Linked DNA regions of Homo sapiens: all the other regions are linked to region 1. The links are contacts of gene promoters, found by promoter capture Hi-C in human tissues and cell types (Jung and others, 2019). All regions are on one chromosome and are shown on one strand. The core of a region is centred on a gene start or on the middle of the fragment in contact, and the rest is flanking DNA. Distances in the headings are between cores, read along the strand shown.

Evidence for each region. Contacts are between HindIII fragments. The study calls those that stand out against the background at their distance.
Region 2: a contact is called between a fragment that was not itself captured here and the fragment with the promoter of PLIN5 in region 1, in 2 of the 25 tissues and cell types used here (bladder and spleen).
Region 3: the fragment with the promoter of DAPK3 here is called in contact with the fragment with the promoter of PLIN5 in region 1 in 1 of the 25 tissues and cell types used here (spleen).

Annotation. Positions count from the first base shown.
Region 1 is chr19:4,533,974-4,537,680 of GRCh38, forward strand. PLIN5 (perilipin 5) reads right to left here and starts at 1,251. Exons shown (of 8, transcript NM_001013706.3): 1 at 1,192-1,251; 2 at 42-122. The coding sequence starts at 101. It overlaps LRG1 (leucine rich alpha-2-glycoprotein 1), which reads right to left. Exons shown (of 2, transcript NM_052972.3): 2 at 2,429-3,707. RefSeq lists an enhancer at 402-957. The HindIII fragment of the contact is 58,476 bases long and covers 1-3,707 here.
Region 2 is chr19:3,995,117-3,999,217 of GRCh38, forward strand. No RefSeq gene overlaps it. Among named protein-coding and RNA genes, the nearest start is that of PIAS4, 11 kb to the right of the region's middle. RefSeq lists an enhancer at 3,723-4,101. The HindIII fragment of the contact is 5,265 bases long and covers 72-4,101 here.
Region 3 is chr19:3,969,441-3,973,244 of GRCh38, forward strand. DAPK3 (death associated protein kinase 3) reads right to left here and starts at 1,659. Exons shown (of 9, transcript NM_001348.3): 1 at 1,481-1,659; 2 at 234-389. The coding sequence starts at 295. RefSeq lists enhancers at 81-710, 711-1,342 and silencers at 231-525, 1,514-1,643. The HindIII fragment of the contact is 13,824 bases long and covers 1-3,804 here.

The DNA of each region.
Region 1 (3,707 bases), core at 1-2,500:
AATACCTTCTGTCCCTGCTCCATGGGAGGGGCAGCCCTCACCTGCTGGTCCTGCTCCCACACACTGGATCTGGGGATCTGAGCCGCCTCTTCTTCAGACATCGTGCTGCAAACAGGGTCACCCTGCGGGGCAGGATTGAGTAAGGGGAGCACCTGCCCAGGCATCAGATCCTGTCAAATTGGGCTCTGTGACTTGAGCAACTCTCAAACCTCTTGGGGCCTCAGTTTCTTCATCTGCATAATGGGGCATTCTGTGGAGCTCAGACAATGCATGTCCAGAGCTCTGTACACAGAGGGTGTCCAATAATGAGCCTCTGGCAAGGTAGGGTTGCCGGAGTGACTCGAAGCATGGTCTCTGAGGTGAGAAAGACCTGGGTTCAAATGCTACCATTAATTGCGGTGTTATTTTTATTATTTTTTTAAAGACAGAATCTCTCTCGCCCAGGCTGGAGAGCAGTGGCGCCATCCCAGCTCACTGCAATTTCCGCCTCCCAGGTTCAAGTGATTCTCCTGCTTCAGCCTCCCAGTTAGCTGGGATTACCCACGTGCCACCATGCTCGGCTAATTTTTGTATTTTTAGTAGAAACCGGGTTTCGCCATGTTGCCCAGGCTGGTCTCAAACTCCTGGGCTCAAGTGATCTGCCCACCTCGGCCTCCCAAAGTGCTGGGATTACAGGCATGAGACACTGCACCTGGCCAGCTGTGTGATTTTTGGCAAGCACCTTCACCTCTCTGGGCTGCTTCCTGTTTTGTAAGATGTGGGAGGTCCCTGCTACCCCTGCGGCCCCTGCCTGGGCCCAGAACTGCCCAAGCACCCTAGACGGCTGGAGGTGGTAGCTGCTGGGTCCCAGTCCACTCACAGCTCATTTGACAGACAGGGCAACTGAGGTACGCAGCAGGTCCATGCTGGTCCCAAGGTCACGCAGCCAGCTAGAGTTACAGGGGGGGAGCTCGACCTCGGGCCTCAGACCTGCCGCCTGCGATCCCTCCGGTTGCCACCCCGCGTCCTCTGAGGCCTGGTCCTCGCCCAACTGGGTCCTGAGCTGGGGCCAACCGGGCCAAGGGTCCCAGCCACCTGCTCTGGCCGGTCATACCCGTCCCACGCCGCCGGACCTTCGCCCAACCACCCTATCTGGAGCTCCTCTCCTAAGCCCGGGGGGGCGCTCCCGGACGCCGCCCTCAGGGCACTCACCTGGGCGCGAGCGGCTTCAGACACCAGCTGTCTCCGCCGACCCCAGGCTCGAGTCTCCACACCCCCGCCGGTCCCGCCCGCCCTTCTTATAGCTGCTCGCGCAGTGGGGGCCTCCGGAACTGACCAATGGGGAGAGGCCGTGCGGGGGCGTGCCCAGGGGGCGTGGCTCCAGGCTTCCCTCGCCCTCTCCTTGAGCTGGCCCAGTGCCCTACGGTTGCCATAGTAATTCGGGAGCGCTAGATTCAAAAGATTGAGCTATTATACGTTCCCGGACCAAGTTTGGCCACCTGTCATCCTCACTGCTGTTGCCATAGAGACAGTCCATGCGATCACAGCCCCCATAGCCCTGCTGAGTGACCTTGGCCAACTCGCTGATGACTTTTCTTATTAATTATTATTATTTATCGATTTTTGAGACTGGGTCTTGCTCGGTTGCCCAGGGCTAGAGTGCAGTGGTGTGATCATAGCTCACTGCAGCCTTGCCCTCCCAGGCTGAGGTGATCCTCCCGCCTCAGTCTCCTAAGTAGCTGGGACCACAGGCACACACCACCACCCCCAGCTAACTTTTTAAACTTTTTGTAGAGACGAGATGTCCCTGTGTTGACCAGGCTTGTCTTCAACCCCTGAGCCCCAAGTGATCCTTCCACCTCAGCCTTCCAAATTGCTGGGATTACAGGTGTGAGCCATTGCACCCAGCCTCTTTTTATTTCTTAATCTGCCCCTTAACTAAGCCAGAAGCCAGGCCTTCCCTTTCCCTAGGATCCCCATTTCACAGATGAGCAAGCTGAGGCTCAGAGATCATAAAACACTTGCCCCGCATACCACAGCAAGTGAGGGATCCTATTCCTTTTTTTTCTTTTTTTTTTTTTGAGACAGAGTCTGACTCTGTCGCCCAGGCTGGAGTGCAGTGGCGCGATCTTGACACACTGCAACCTCCGCCCCCTGGGTTCAAGTGATTCTCCTGCCTCGGCCTCCGGAGTAGCTGGGATTACAGGCGCCTGCCACCACACCTAGCTAATTTTTGTATTTTTAGTAGAGACGGGGTGTCACCATATTCGTCAGGCTGGTCTTGGACTCCTGACCTCGTGATTTGCCTGCCTTGGCCTCCCAAAGTACTAGGATTACAGGCATGAGCCACCGTGCCCGGCCAGGGATCCTATTCAAACCCAGCCCTGCTGGACCTCAGAACCCTGCCTTTTCATTGCCTTGCCTGGAATGACCACAGATGTAGGCATGGTCTTTTTATTTTTATTTTTATTTTTGAGACACAGTTTCACTCTGTCGCCCAGCCTGGAGTGCAGTGGCGTGATCTTGGCTCACTGCAACCTCCGCCTCCCAGGTTCAAGTGATTCTCCTGCCTGACCCTCCCAAGTAGCTGGTATTACAGGCACGTGCCACTGTGCCTGGCTAATTTTTGTATTTTTAGTAGAGACAGGGTTTTGCCATGTTGGCCAGTCTGGTCTCGAACTCCTGACCTCCGGTGATCTGCCTGCCTCAGCCTCCCAAAGTGTTTGGATTACAGGCATGAGCCACGGCGCCAGGCTGCATGGTCATTTTTTAGGGAGCTGGGAAAACTGGACATGCCCCCAAGCCCCAGGGTCTTCCAAATCCGATTGCAGCCCCCACATGGCCAATGCTGTATCAGCAGGTGGGCCCGGGACCCTGCTCATCCCTTCAGCCCCATCCTGCCCCTGCAACCTTGCCCGGGGGCAGGTGCCCCCTTCGATGATCTCAGGTCAGCATGACAAATCGTTTGGAGACCTGGGCAATCTGGTTTAACTTAAACCTTCTCCTAGGACACAAGCCCTGGCAGAAATCCACTGGTAAAATGACACCCGGGCAACAGTCAAGGTTTTATTTCCAGTTAGGTCCCAGGATGGGGGAAGGGAGAGGAGAAGTCACAGGCCATTGATCCCAACTGTCATCCCCTAGGGAGACCATATCCCACACCCCAGGGCCTGGGCCATGCCTCTTTTCCTCCTTCACCCTGGAGTCCTGGGAAGTTGATTTGAGAAGATGCTAGGAACACAATGAAAGCCAATTCATCCGATCCAGTTTTCAAGGGTTATTTATTAAACCCCTTGGTTCTGACCCCAAGCTAAGTGGGACTCAGCATCAGACCCTGCACTCAGAGAGCCCCCTGACTTGGGGAAGACAGAGTCAGAGAAAGGCAGCCCCAGTGTGGCCAGGGCTCAGCTGGAAGGAAGGACAAGGGGCTGGGAGAACCCAGAGTTCAAGAGATCTGGGAAACAGGGAACGGCATTCCAGACGGAGGGCACACCTTGGGCATGGGTAAGGAAAGCCCATCGTGTGTTCTAGGAAGCATGGATGGATGAAACGGGGTCCCAGCCGCTATGGACAGCCCCGAGTTTCACCTGTAAAAGGCAGGATTATTTGTTTTTAATTTTAATTTTAATTTTTTTGAGACAGTCTTGCTCTGTCGCCCAGGCTAGAGTGCAGTGGCACGATCTTGGCTCACCGCAAGCTCCGCCTCCCAAGTTCACGCCATTCTCCTG
Region 2 (4,101 bases), core at 1,454-3,953, 540 kb before region 1:
AACCTCTGCCTCCCAGGTTCAAGTGATTCTCTTGCCTCAGCCTCCCGAGTAGCTGGGACTACTGGTGACCAGAACCATGCCCAGCTATTTTTTTTTGTATTTTTAGTAGAGATGGGGTTTCGCCATGTTGGCCAGGATGGTCTCGATGTCTTGACCTCGTGATCCACCCGCCTCAGCCTCCCAAAGTGGTGGGATTACAGGCGTGAGCCACCGCGCCTGGCCCTCCAGAAACCTTTTTTAATAAGCTGGGCATGATGGTGCACCCGTGTAGTCTCAACTACTTGGGATGCTGAGGCAGGAGGGTCACCTGAGCCCAGGACTTTTTTGTTTTTTTTTTTTTGAGACGGAGTCTCGCTGTCGCCAGGCTGGAGTGCAGTGGCACAATCTCAGCTGACTGCAACCCTCCACCTTCTGGGTTAAAGCAATTCTCCTCATCTCTACAAAAACTGCAAAAAAATTAGCTGGGCATGGTGGCGTGTGGCTATAAAACCAGCTACTCAGGAGGCTGAGGTGGGAGGATTGCTTGAGCCTAGGAGGCGGAGGTTGCAGAGAGCCAAGATATTGCCACTGCACTCCAGCCTGGGTGATAGAGTGAGACTCAGTCTCAAAAAGAAAAAAAAATAGTAGGCGGGTGGTTATTCCTATGAAAGAGACTTCTGTGTCCCTGAGAAAATGCCCTGAGGGTGGGGTGGTGGGAGAGAGAACAAATTCCTTAACTCCCAATTCAATTATTTACTTATTTATCTTTAGACAGCATCTCACTGTTACGCAGGCTGGAGTGCACTGGTGTGATCATAGCTCACTGCAGCCTCGACCTCCCAGGCTCAAGCAGTTCTCTCACCTCAGCCTCCCGATTAGCTGGGACTACAAGTTCACGCCACCATACCTGGGTTTTTTGTTGTTTTTTTTTAAATTGAGATGGAGTCTCGCTCTGTCGCCCAGGCTGGAGTGCAGTGGCGCCATCTCGGCTCACTGCAAGCTCCGCCTCCCGGGTTCACACCATTCTCCTGCCACAGCCTCCCCAGCATCTGGGACTACAGGCGCATGCCACGACACCCGGCTAATTTTTCTGTATTTTTAGTAGAGACAGGGTTTCACCGTGTTAGCCAGGATGGTCTCAATCTCCTGACCTTGTGATCTGCCCGCCTCGGCCTCCCAAAGTGCTGGGATTACAGGTGTGAGTCACCACGCCCGGCCATACCTGGGTATTTTTAAGATTGTTGAAGAGATGGGGTCTATGTTGCCCAGGCTGGTCTTGAACTCCTGAGCTCAAGCAATCCTCCTGCCTCAGCCTCCCAAAGTGCTGGGATTCTAGGCCTAAGCCCCGGCGCCCAACCTGTCCCCCAATTAGATTATATTTGTTTATACAATCTGTTTTATTTATTTATTTACTTATTTATTTTATTTTTTTGAGATGGAGTCTCGCGTGTTGCCCAGGCTGGAGTGCAGCAGCATGATCTCAGCTCACTGCAACCTCTGCCTCTCGGGTTAAAGCGATTCTCCTGTCTCAGCCTCCTGAGTAGCTGGAATTACAGGTGTGTGCCACTATGCCCGGCTAATTTTTGTATTTTTAGTGGAGACAGGGGTTTCACCATGTTGCGTGGGCTGGTCTCAAACTTCTGACCTCAGGTGATCCTCCTGCCTCGGCCTCCCAAAATGCTGGGATTACAGGAGTGAGCCACTGTGCCTGGCCTACAATCTGTTTTAGAGCCAGAAAATGCAATCAATTGTGATAATACATTGCTATGTTTTGAAATACATATATACAAACGTGCACACAACTTTATTTAAATTTAAGATGCTTTTAATATTCAGCTAACACCAAATTCACAATTTGATACTTTTTTTTTTTGGTAAAGATGGAGTCTCCTTCTGTCACCGAGGCTGGAGTGCAGTGTCCTCATCTCGGCTCACTGCAACCTCTGTCTCCCAGGTTCAAGAGATTCTCCTGCCTCAGCATCCTGAGTAGCTGGGATTACAGGTGCGTGCCACCACGCCCCAGTAATTTTTTTTGTATTTCTAGTAGAGACAGGGTTTCACCATGTTGGCCAGGCTGGTCTCAAACTCCTGACCTCATGATCCACCCGCCTCGGCCTCCTAAAGTGCTGGGATTACAAGCTTGAGCTACCGCGCCCAGCTCATAGGTATTTTTGCCCAGGAAACAACTCCATTTACTTAAGTGCAAAACGGGAGTAACTATCTGTATCTATATCTACCTCTCTCCATCTATCTCTATGTATCTTACATAACAGTGGAGGTGGTTTGTGAATTTTGTCAGAATTGCAAAGGATCTGATTTAGAACTGATGAATTCTGTCCTAAAACAGGCTGTAAAGCTTTAAATTGGTCGTGTGGGGATTTTCCATAGCCTCCCTCTCCTCTTTCTTGTCTGTCTACCTCCCATCAGTGTCTGAACATGTTCTGTATTTAGCCTTTTTTTTTTTTTTTGAGATGGAGTCTCCCTCTGTTGCCCAGGCTGGAGTACAGTGGTGCCATCTCGGCTCACTGCAAGCTCCACCTTCCGGGTTCAAGTGACTCTCCTGCCTCAGCCTCCCAAGTAGCTGGGACTACAGGCGTGTGCCACCACGCCCAGCTAAATTTTTATTTTTGGTAGAGATGGGTTTTCACCATCTTGGCCAGGCTGGTCTCGAACTCTGGGCCTCAGGTGATCCGCCCATGTCAGCCTCCCAAAGTGCTGGGATTACAGGCGTGACCCACCACGCCGGGACCTTTAATTAGCTTTTGATTTTGTTTGTTGTTGATCTCCCTCCTGGAATGCCAGTTCCACGAGGACAGGGAATTTTGCCTGTTGTGGTCACCACTGTGTCTGAGCATCTCTAACAAAGACTAGCAAGCTACAGCCCTCAGCCCTAATCTTTTTTTTTTTTTTTTTTTGAGTCTCGCTCTGTAACCAGGCTGGAGTTCAGTGGCACAATCTCGGCTCACTGCAAGCTCCGCCTCCCGGGTTCACGCCGTTTTCCTGCCTCAGCCTCCCGAGTAGCTGGGACTACAGGCGCCCGCCACCATGCCCGGCTAATTTTTTGTATTTTTAGTAGAGACGGGGTTTCACCGTGTTAGCCAGGATGGTCTCGATCTCCTGATCTCGTGATCTGCCCGCCTCGGCCTCCCAAAGTGCTGGGATTACAGGCATGAGCCACTGCGCCCAGCGTATTATTATTATTATTATTATTATTATTACTTTTGAGACAGAGTCTCTCTCTGTCACCCAGGCTGGAGTGCAGTGACACAATCACGGTTCACTGCTGCCTGGAACTCCTGGGCTCAAGCCATCCACCTGAGTAGGTAAGACTGTAGGCGTGCACCACCATGCCTACTTAATTTTTTATTTTTTGCAGAGAGAGGATCTCATTATGTTGCTCAGTCTGGTGTAGAAATCCTGTGTTCAAGCAGTCCTCCTGCCTGGATCTCCAAAAGTTCTGGGATTACACACCCGACCCACAGCACCCGGCCTTCTTTCTCTTTTAAATGTTCAAACAAAAGCATAATAATAACATGACATGTGAAAATACGTAAGATTGAAATTTCTGTGTTTATGAAGTTCTACTAGCATACAGGCCTGGCTCAGTGGTTCACACCCGTAATCCCAGCATTTTGGGAGGTCCAGGAGGGCAGATCACTCGAGGTCAGGAGTTCAAGACCAGCCTGGCCGGGGGCAGCCCCCGCCCGGCCAGCTGCCCCGTCCGGAAGGGAGGTGGGGGGCAGCCCCCGCCCGGCCAGCCGCCCCGTCCGAGAGGTGGGGGGCGTCTCTGCCCGGCCGCCCCGTCTGGGAAGTGAGGAGCCCCTCTGCCCGGCCGCCACCCCGTCTGGGAGGTGTACCCAGCAGCTCATTGAGAGCAGACCATGATGACGATGGCGGTTTTGTCGAATAGAAAAAGGGGGAAATGTGGGGAAAAGAAAGAGAGGTCAGATTGTTACGCTGTCTGTGTGGAAAGAAGTGGACATAGGAGACTCCATTTTGTTCTGTACTGAGAAAAATTCTTCTGCCTTGGGATGCTGTTAATCTATAACCTTACCCCCAACCCCGTGCTGAAACATGTGCTGTGTCCACTCAGGGTTAAATGGATTAAGGGCGGTGCAAGAT
Region 3 (3,804 bases), core at 409-2,908, 560 kb before region 1:
AACGGCTCAATTACTTTTCTCCCCACAGGAAACACACAGAGGATTCCCAAGCAGGAATTCACAGCCGGGGCTGTCTGACTCCACGGCCCAAATTCGTTCCCCCACCGCATGATACTGACTCATTCCTTCTCAGCATACAGGATAAAGAACAGGAAAGGAGAGCTGCTGTTCAGAAAACCCCACAGCGCCTCTCTCCTATCCCTGGAGCCCAGCCGTGCGGGCAGACAGCTCACCTGCCCAGCTCCTCCCCCATCTCATAATGGTCCTCCACGTCCTCCTGCCTGAACGTGGACATGGCGGCCGGTCCGCCTTCCAGCAGCTTCCACTCCAGGGAAAGTGCAGTCACCGCAGCCTGGAGATAGGACCTCAGGAGTCCCCTAATGGCAACCCTGGAGAAGACAGGGAAAGACAGAAGTGAGGAACTGAGACACCACCCTTTTCTCCTAGATTAATGGACAGACCTGTCCAGCAAACACAAGCCTCCCACCTCTCCACTCTGAAGCTCCAAACTCGACAAAAAGAGGTGCTGTGTTTACTGGGCTGGGTCCTGTCATGTCACCTCTTAGAGCCCCATAACCACTCAAAAGTTTGGTAACAGCCCCACTGGGCCACCTTCACCCCGCAAAACTCTCTCCAGACACATAATTCTGATTTCCCCGACGCTGCCTGCGTCTTTTTTTGCCTCTCACTCCTAGACTTCTCTCAACCTGCTCAGCCAAAATCCCCCACCATTCCTGCACGTTCTCCTCAACCTCAAATCCCAGGGCTACCTTACTCCCTGGCCAATGTCTTAACGAAGTTCTCAAGTCTACTTCTTTTGTTGTTGGTGTTGTTGTTTTTTGAGAAGGAGTCTCGCTCTGTCGCCCTGGCTGGAGTGCAGTGGTGCAATCATGGCTCACTGCAGCCTGGAACTCCAAGGCTCAAGCGATCGTCCCAGGCCTCCCAAAGTGCTGCCATTCCGATCAAAATTCCCAAGTTACTACCTTAACCCCTCCTGGTCCTTGCCCTCGGCAGGTCTCTTAAGACCCTCATCGATGGAACACCCCCGCCCACCCCCAACCATCTCTGACTCCCTCCAATTCTGAATTTTCCAAGAACCGGACGACGCCTTCCACGCTCCTGAAAGCCCACTTTGCCTCCCTCCCCCGCTGACCTCCACTGTCCTCGCAAGATTAACCTCTTCCTCCACGCTCCATGTATCAAAGTCCCCCAACCGCCGTCTCCCCTACCCCCCAAAACGGGCCGCCAAAAAGGGCCCCATCTGAGTCTCCTCCACCGTCCTCTGCCCCTTCTCGCCCGCAATCTCCGCACAAGCCCCTAGGCAGACCCCAGTGGCTCCCTTTGCAGAACCTCCCCCCGCCCCCAAGGCCTTGCCCATCCCTAAGGCTCCGCTCCAGCATCCCTGGGGCCGCTACGCCCCTCGCACGCCCGGCCGAGCCCTTTCCCCGGCCCGGTCACCCAGATGGGTCCCCAAACCTACCAGCTCCTCAGATTCTCTCCCTCCCTCGTCCTCCGCGGGCCCCCGAAGCGCCGCTCTGGCCCCACCCAGCCCTCCAGCCTCGGCCCGAGCCCGCTCTTTACCCTCCGCAGCCCGGAGAATACGGCCGGCGCCGCCGCGCTGGCCACCGCCGCCGCCTCCAGAAGCCCCGCGCCCCTGCCGCCGCGACGCGCCTGCGCCGACGTCACCGCACCCGCCAGTGCCCACCCCCGGGAAACGAACCCCGCCGCCTATTGGCCGGTGCGCCCGCCGCTCGTGCCGCACCTCGACGTCCCGCCCCCAGCTGCCTTTTCGGCACCCACACCCGGATGCAGCCTCACCACTGGCTGAACACTCGCCATCCCTGATTTCATTGGCTGCAGTCGACGCTGGTCAAGCGGACGGAAAAAAGGCCGACTTCCGGTCCCTTCATCGCCCCGCCCGCCTCTCCTCTGACCCAGGTGCTGAAGCTGCGAGAAGTGAGGCTGAAGCCCTGCATCCCGCTTCCTGCCTTCCTGGAGCACCGGTTGGGCGAATGGATGGCTCACCTGTGGCCGAGCGCGCCTGGCAGCTCCTGGAGTGGACCCTGGGACTGCTTTAGTCCCTATGTGGCAGTTTCCTCCACTGAAAACTGTTACCCACATTCTAAATACTTAAAATGCAAATGAGGTCAATCTGGGGTTGTCATACACAGGGTCCCTCTTCGTCTCAAAATAGAGGGTAACAGCAAGCATTTTATTGAGACATAGTATGTGCCAACTGACAACACTGGGAGGTATCAGGTTTGTTTTTTTTTTAATTTTATTTTTTGAGACAGGGTCTCACTCTGTCACCCAGGCAGGAGTGCAGCGGCGGTATCCAGCTCACTGCAACCTCCACCTCCCGGGTTCAAACGATTCTCGTGCCTCAGCCTCCCAAGTAGCTGGGATTACAGGTGCCCATCACCACGCCCGGCTAATTTTTGTATTTTTAGTAGAGACGGGGTTTCACCATGTTGCCCAGGCTGGTCTCGAACTCCTAAGCTCAGGTGATCCGGCACCTCAGCTTTCCAAAGTGCTGAGATTACAGGCGTGAGCCATTGCGCCCGGCCTAAATTCATTTTTTATTATTATTTTGAGACGGAGTCTCGCTCTGTCACCCAGGCTGGAGTACACTGGCACAATCTCGGCTCACTGCAAGCTCCACCTCCCAGGTTCACGCCATTCTCCTGCCTCAGCCTCCCGAATAGCTGGGACTACAGGCGCCCGTCACCACGCCCAGCTAATTTTTTGTATTTATTAGTAGAGACAGGGTTTCACCGTGTTAGCCAGGATGGTCTCGATCTCCTGACCTCCTGATCCGCCCGCCTCGGCCTCCCAAAGTGCAGGAATTACAGGCATGAGCCACCTTGCCCAGCCTTTTTTTTTTTTTTTTTTTTTTTTTGAGACAGTCTCCTTCTATCGTCCAGGCTGGAACGCAGTGGTGAGATCTGGGCTCACTGCAATCTCTGCCTCCTGGGTTCAAGCGATTCTCCTGCCTCAGCCTCCCGAGTAGCTGGGACTACAGGTGCACGCCACCACTCCCAGCTGATTTTTGTATTTTTAGTAGACGCAGGGTTTCACCATGTTGGCCAGGATGGTCTCAATATCTGTGATCCGCCGGCCTCGGCCTCTCAAAGTGCTGCGATTACAGACGTGAGCCACAAGCCGGCCTTTATATTTTTTATTTACATTTTCAACGTACAATGGGTTGGCCAGGTGTGGTGGCTCACGCCCGTAATCCCAACAGCTTGGGCAGCCAAGGCGGGCAGGTCACTTGAAGTAGGAGTTCAAGACCAGCCTGCTCAACATGGTGAAACCCTGTCTCTACTAAAAATACAAAAGTTAGCCAGGCCTGGTGGCACATGCCTGTAATCCCAGCTACTCGGGAGGCTAGCGCAGGAGAATTGCTTGAACCCAGGAGGTGGAGGTTGCAGCGAGCCGAGATCATGCCACTATACTACAGCCTGGGTGACGGAGGGAGACTCCATCTCAAAGAAAAAAAAGTGGCAGGGCATGGTGGCTAACGCCTGTAATTCCAGCATTTTGGGAGGCCACGGTGGGCAGATCACGAAGTCAGGACATCAAGACCATCCTGGCTAACACGGTGAAACCCTGTCTCTACTAATAAATACAAAAAATTAGCCGGGCATGGTGGCGGGTGCCTGTAGTCCCGGCTACTCGGGAGGCTGAGGCAGGAGAATGGCGTGAACCCGGGAGGCGGAGCTTGCAGTGAGCCAAGATTGAGCCACTGCACTCCAGCCTGGGTGACAGAGCAAAGACTGTCTCAAAAAAAAAAAAAAATTCAGC